Linked DNA regions of Homo sapiens: region 2 is linked to region 1. Evidence: promoter capture Hi-C in human tissues and cell types (Jung and others, 2019). All regions are on one chromosome and are shown on one strand. Each heading gives the region's core, a stretch centred on a gene start or on the middle of the fragment in contact. The rest is flanking DNA. Distances are from core to core; before and after follow the strand shown.

Evidence for each region. Contacts are between HindIII fragments. The study calls those that stand out against the background at their distance.
Region 2: a contact is called between a fragment that was not itself captured here and the fragment with the promoter of PRSS1 in region 1, in 3 of the 25 tissues and cell types used here (aorta, dorsolateral prefrontal cortex and pancreas).

The regions. Positions count from the first base shown.
Region 1 is chr7:142,747,799-142,751,086 of GRCh38, forward strand. It overlaps PRSS1 (serine protease 1), which reads left to right and starts at 1,674. Exons shown (of 5, transcript NM_002769.5): 1 at 1,674-1,726; 2 at 2,757-2,916. The coding sequence starts at 1,687. It also overlaps TRB. The HindIII fragment of the contact is 6,237 bases long and covers 1-3,288 here.
Region 2 is chr7:142,644,718-142,648,005 of GRCh38, forward strand. It overlaps TRB and the pseudogene TRBV23-1. Among named protein-coding and RNA genes, the nearest start is that of PRSS1, 100 kb to the right of the region's middle. The HindIII fragment of the contact is 4,098 bases long and covers 1-3,288 here.

The DNA.
Region 1 (3,288 bases), core at 424-2,923:
GTATTCTTGGGCAAGACAGAATCCTTCTGAATCTCAGTCTCTTGCTCTATAAATGGAAACAATTTTGCTCTGCACAAATTACAATTAGCATGTTTGTGGGAAGTTAAAGTGTGAAACTCAGCATAAATGAAAAGTAATGTACCACTGTTGCTTACATGAAAACTCTTGTAAAGTTGTCAGGCACTGTGCACCATCTAAGCATAGCAGTGTTAGGTATGGGCCCATTAGTGATTAGAGGGGGTGCGAGGCGGAGAGGGGGTCTCCAAGCAGTGGGTCTCCTGGCTGTGGGGAAGCTGGCTCAGCAGCCATACCAGGAGCTGAAACCGAAGGTACTCTGTGTGTCCTCTCAACACCATGGGCCCCACTTTGGCATTATTTCCAATTCCCTCTGGTTTCCATTTGCTTCCTCCCTCTAGCCCCCTGGCCAGGTCCGATTTCAACACCAAGTTTCTGAGCTTTTCCCATTTTGTCCACCGTCTCTAGAACATTTCTGCTTCTTTTACCTTTCAAAGAATCCAAACTTGAACTCTACTTACTCCTGCCCATCACCAGCCTGAGCTCAGAGTTGCTGAGAAGGGAAAGCACCCTCATAAGGAAGCTCCTCCTTTCCCTACATCATTAGACTTGAGCACAGACAGCATCTCCATTTCCACACTGCTCTGGCCAGGTTGTGCCTCAGTCAATTACACAACTGTGTCTTAGTAGCCTTGGTAGGGCCCAAATCAGGATATTCTCTAGGAAGATTCACTTTGTACTGAGCCAAGCATAATCTCACTGCATCGAAAATAGAAAATGATCATCTGATCATTCTGGTTCAGACTGTCAGCCCTGAGCAGGTGGGTCAGTTTGCATCACCTGAGTGCAGATTGCAAGGACAACAGTGAGGCTGCATAAAAAGAACCTATGACAGGATGCACATGAGAGAGACAAATGTCTTCACATTGAAGAAGGGGAGGAGTGCGCCATTGGTTTTCCATCCTCCAGAGGCACTGAGAAAGCTCCTACAGAAACTGTGCCCCCTCCTTCTTTGAAACACTTCCCATCCTTAAGCCTTGGTAGGAAGGAGAGAAATCTGGAAGCCCAGAATCCTATGGAATGCTGAGTCTCCCTTCTCCTTACCCCTTAGTGTTGGAATTTTCATTCCCCAAAATCTTGCATTTGACCTTCCTGCACACTGACTGGAGAGAAGCATCTTCATATTCACAGGAATGAGCCTTAGATAAGACTTTGCTCCTCTCATGTGGGCCCCAGGAAACTGAAATCCAAGCTTTTTACCAATGCTTGCCCTTCCTTAAGTACATTAAATACATTCCCAATAGGTGGAAAGATTTGTAAACAGCTAGGCCATTCTCCCTCCTTCTAACCCTCATCTCCAGGGCCTAAGAAAGCCCAGCTCTGTTATCTGGGGCTTGACTTTCCCTGTCTTCCCCATCCCAGTATCCTTGCAGGAAACAGCCGGTCTCGCTCTCTGCTCTCAGAAGGAAAGTTTCCTTATCACCTGTGAATCACAAACCCAGAGAGTGGCCAAACATAGCCAGGCTGATGCAAGACCCTGGGAAGAGGAAAGCTGCAGGTGTGTTTGTGCTGGGAGGAGTGGTGACCCTCACCTCACAGTCACCTCCTCTCTGGATCCTCGTGAGGTATAAAGACGAGTCCTCCACCACCAGTCAGGCACACTCTACCACCATGAATCCACTCCTGATCCTTACCTTTGTGGCAGCTGCTCGTGAGTATCATGCCCTGCCTCAGGCCCCAACCACCCCCCCGTTCCTGGCCGACAAATGCCCTTCCATTCTTACCACCTCTCCTCTTTTGACTGTGCTCTGATATTCCGTTTCCTCCATCTGGCATATCTCCTTCCCATCCTCCTTGGGCTCTTTTTAAGTCTCACCTGTTCACCTTCTCCTTGACTTCACTCCCACCACTGTCATTCATCCATATCCGAGTTGTGGTTGGAGAAGCTGGGAAGGGGGCCAGGTGGGGCTGTCCCACGAAATGAAGCAGCAGGCTTCAGGCTTGGCTCCAACAGCAACAGAATAGCACCACTATAGCTGCTCCTAACCTCGAATGCACCTGGGGAGGTTGAAAAATTACTCATGCCAGAGACTCAGCTCTAGAAATTCTAACTTCAATTGTCTGGGGTAGAGCTTGTGTTCTGGGCTTTTAAGCTTCCCAGGTGATTTTTAATATTTCCAGCCATGCAGCCAAGGTTAAGAATTGCTGTCCTATTGGCCAATAACAAAGTCTACCTTTGTTCTGCCAAAGTGAGCCTGGGGGCTGCCCTCAACTCTGCCCTGACTGCACAGATCTGAGCTATGGGGGAAGGTGGTCATGGCCAGGTCTATGCAGACAGGGGGTTTTCCTAGCTTGGCAAAAGAATCCTGACAATCCAGGGCCCAAATAGCCAGGGGAAGTACACAGGTGATGAATAAAAGAGAGAAGCACTCAGTGGGAGAGACAACCACATCCCAACTCCTATCCCACTGGAAGCATTGTGAGGACATTCCTTGCGACTTCAGCCTGGTGACCCCAGGAGAGCTCGGATCCTCCGCAGGGTACCTAGCTATGTGCCCTGCAGGCACAGAGACTTGGGAGCCACAGGCAGTGATGATCACCAGGGGTGGCAGAGCTCCCTCCCTTGCCTAGCCTCACTGTGCTTGTTAAGGATTTCTAATTAGCAGAAAGCAATCACAGGCTGGGAGCGCCACCCCTAACATGCTATTGACTTGCCTTCTCCCTTCCCATCTCCACTCCAGTTGCTGCCCCCTTTGATGATGATGACAAGATCGTTGGGGGCTACAACTGTGAGGAGAATTCTGTCCCCTACCAGGTGTCCCTGAATTCTGGCTACCACTTCTGTGGTGGCTCCCTCATCAACGAACAGTGGGTGGTATCAGCAGGCCACTGCTACAAGTCGTAAGTGTGGGGCCCCCGACTGCAAAGCTCCCGGCCAGTCTGCCTGGGAGAGCTTGGCTTCAGCCCAGGGAACTACTGAGGTTGGGTAAGATGGATGGGAGAGGTGGTGGAGAAGAAAACTTGTTGGCAGCTGCGGACTCTCCAGAGCAGAGAGTGAACACAAGACAGGAACCTCTCACACCCAGGCAAATCCATGAAACAGCAAGGGTTGTGGTCATAAAAGCAGGCAGGGATGATCTTGGGGTGGTGAGAGCTAGTGAGAAAAGCAGGCAAGTATCTTTTGCTGGTTAGCTACACATTAAAGCCAACTAAGAAAGACTTTTTAAAAATACAGATGCCTTTGTCCTATCCCAGGGCAATTAAGTCAAAATT
Region 2 (3,288 bases), core at 245-2,744, 100 kb before region 1:
TTGAATGAAAAATTACATTGCAGAAGAAAGGTACAGTATTGTCTCGTTTGTGTAAAGTTTGAAAGCATCTAAAACTAAACACTATTTTGTTTGCTTATGTGCCTATGCATTAAAATATAAAAGAGAAGCAAATAATTACAAAAACAAACACCTCAATAGAGTTAGAGAACAGAGGCATGGAATCTGGGAAAAGAAATAAGAGCTTTCAAATATTCTGGTAATCTTTTATTTCCTGTGCCAAGTTGTTTTTTTAAGTGATCATTCTGTTGGTATTTTATCAAGTTATTATCTATATATTCAAAGTCCATTTTGTAATGTGGAGAAAACAACCTCACTGAACAATTAAATTAGTAAGGAGAAATCTATGGAAAGATATACATTAAGCTGTTAACATTACTTACCTGAAATGAGGATGAGATGGAGGAAGAGAAAAGTAAGCGAAAAAAAAAATCATCAAAAAATGCACAATTTAAAATAAATAGTTACAGAGAGAAAAAGCAAAAAAGGGAGGTTATGTAAAAGAAGCACTAGTAAATGAACAAGCTAAAATACACCAGAAAGAGCTAGAAGGTGAAGTATTTTTCAAAGCAGTCACTAGTTTCAGAATCATAAAGATAGCAATTACAACAGAGATCTGAAATATATAAAAGATAATTAGATAACTAATAGCCAGAAGGAATGTCCAGTCTTGAGTTAGAAACTGATGCTCAAATTAATGGCAAAGGACGTTTTTGAAACAACTGTGAAACTTTGCATAAAAACTAAATAGTAGATAAGATGAAAATGCATCGATGAGAAAGGATGATCATTAACTGAAAAAAAGCTTATCAAACAGAATTTCAAGAATATTGTTTACTAAAAAAAGTGTCTATATATCTACACATTTATATATGGGGCAGAGAAGGATCTAGAAAGACTCACTAAGGTGTTAACAGTGATAATTGCTTTCTGGCAGTGGTATCATATTTTTATTTTGTTATTTTATTTTCTAACTTTCTAAAATATGAGTGTATTGCTTATATTAGCAAAAATAGACATAACATATTTTTAAATGAATACAAAATAACTGAGTTATATTTCCTGAGTTAGGATAAAAGCTTTTTTTCCCTGATACTATGAAGTGTTTTTGCTCAGGAACATGAAGCAATAACATGATGATTATAAGTCAGTGGAGGGATCACGTCACAAGAAGGTGCAGAAAGGGGATGAAAAAGCCTCATCCCTTTGCAACGTCAATGCGATCATGGGCACCAGGCTCCTCGGCTGTGCAGCCCTGTGTCTCCTGGCAGCAGATGCGCCCTGAGCACAAAAGAAAAATCCTTGTCCTGGGCTTGCCAACCAGCAGATCCAAGCTTTGTTTTGTTTTGTTTTGTTTTGTTTTGTTTTGTTTTGTTTTGTTTGTTAAGCTCTTTCCTGGACTCTTTCTACAGCATCTGTTTCTTTCTCTTACAGACTCTTTTCATGCCAAAGTCACACAGACTCCAGGACATTTGGTCAAAGGAAAAGGACAGAAAACAAAGATGGATTGTACCCCCGAAAAAGGACATACTTTTGTTTATTGGTATCAACAGAATCAGAATAAAGAGTTTATGCTTTTGATTTCCTTTCAGAATGAACAAGTTCTTCAAGAAACGGAGATGCACAAGAAGCGATTCTCATCTCAATGCCCCAAGAACGCACCCTGCAGCCTGGCAATCCTGTCCTCAGAACCGGGAGACACGGCACTGTATCTCTGCGCCAGCAGTCAATCCACAGCACTGAAATGTCAGTTCCTCTTAGCACACAAACTTGTCACAGACCCAGCTCAGGAAGCAGGTGATGTATTAGGCTGGAAGGGAGTAACAGAAAATAACTGGAGCCAGCTTAAGCCACAGTGTAATTTAACACAAGGATAAAGGGTGTTTAGCAGAAGTCAAGAGGTGATAGAAGTTCTGAAAAGGCACCACTAGGGCTGGGCTCTAGAATGGCTATCTCTCCAGCGCTGATTTTTATTCAATTTTGGCTGCTGAATGCTTTTCTCTCCCTGTACACCATCTCTTTTTCTCCAGGCCTCGTGGTGAGAATGAGATGGTCACTAAAGATTACAAATTCAGTTGCCATCATTTCCCTACACTGATAAATACCAGGCTGGCTCTTTCTAAGCCTCAATTCAAAATCCCAAGAGAAAAAAACAGATCAGTCATGATCCAGCCATTAACCTTCTCACAGAGCACTCAGCAGTAGGCATGTATGTATATATTTAAAATCACATAAATATTACTTTTCCACTCAGCTCAAGAAAGGGAAGTGCTCCGTTTTTCTGTAAGTACATTTGGTCTTGTTGCTTCTACATGATAGAGAGTACTCATACCCATTTCTTCAGAAATACATAGCCAGATTTTCTCCAGTTTTCTGCCAGAATTGAAAATTCTTGTACAAATACCTTCATAGACTTGTATGATTGCTTTATAGGATTATATACCCAGAGCAAGTCATGATTGCTGAGACATGGAATTCTATGCATATTTTATCTATCTAAATACCACCACGGGTTCTTCAGGATCACTGTATACATCTGCAATCCCACATAAAAGTGAATAGGGTGTTTTCCTACATCCTAATATCTCCTTTAATCCTTATCCAGTGATCTAGATTGTTCTCAGTCTAGCAATGTAAAGAGATTCCAATCTCTGTCTCTCTTTCTCTCCACCCCCCACCCCTGCAACCCTCTCACCTACTGCCAGAATATCATCAGTGTTTACCATAAAGATACAGGTGACAATTTTTTAAAACTAAATAAAACCAATAATTTAAAGGAACTGAGAGATTACGTTATACTACTATAATAATAACTGGCAGCAATCTAGAAGGCTGAATAATGTTCTCTCCCTCCTTTTCTTTCCTTTGCAATTTTCTAATTACTAATGAGTTTGAGCACTTCTTCATGTGATAGTGGTCCTGGATTTCTGTTCTCAAAATGGCCTATCCATATCCGCTGGCAAATTCTCTATTGACAGTTCTATATTTTCCTCAATGATTTGTAGGGGGTCCTGAGATATACAAGATATTAGTCTCCTTTCTGAAACTTTAGGCACTGGAAATACCACCACCCAATATGGCACCACCTCTGTCCCAGACTTCAAAGAATCAGTAGATGTGGGAGGAACCAGGTGATCTCTTACCTTAGCAGGTGCATGCGTGTTATCTCCATTATGTGAATGAGACTTCTATCTTTCACTTCCACTCTGCTGAGTGCTCAACTTGCTGTCTCTTCCATTATTACTCATGTCTTTAAGCAGCATAGAAAAG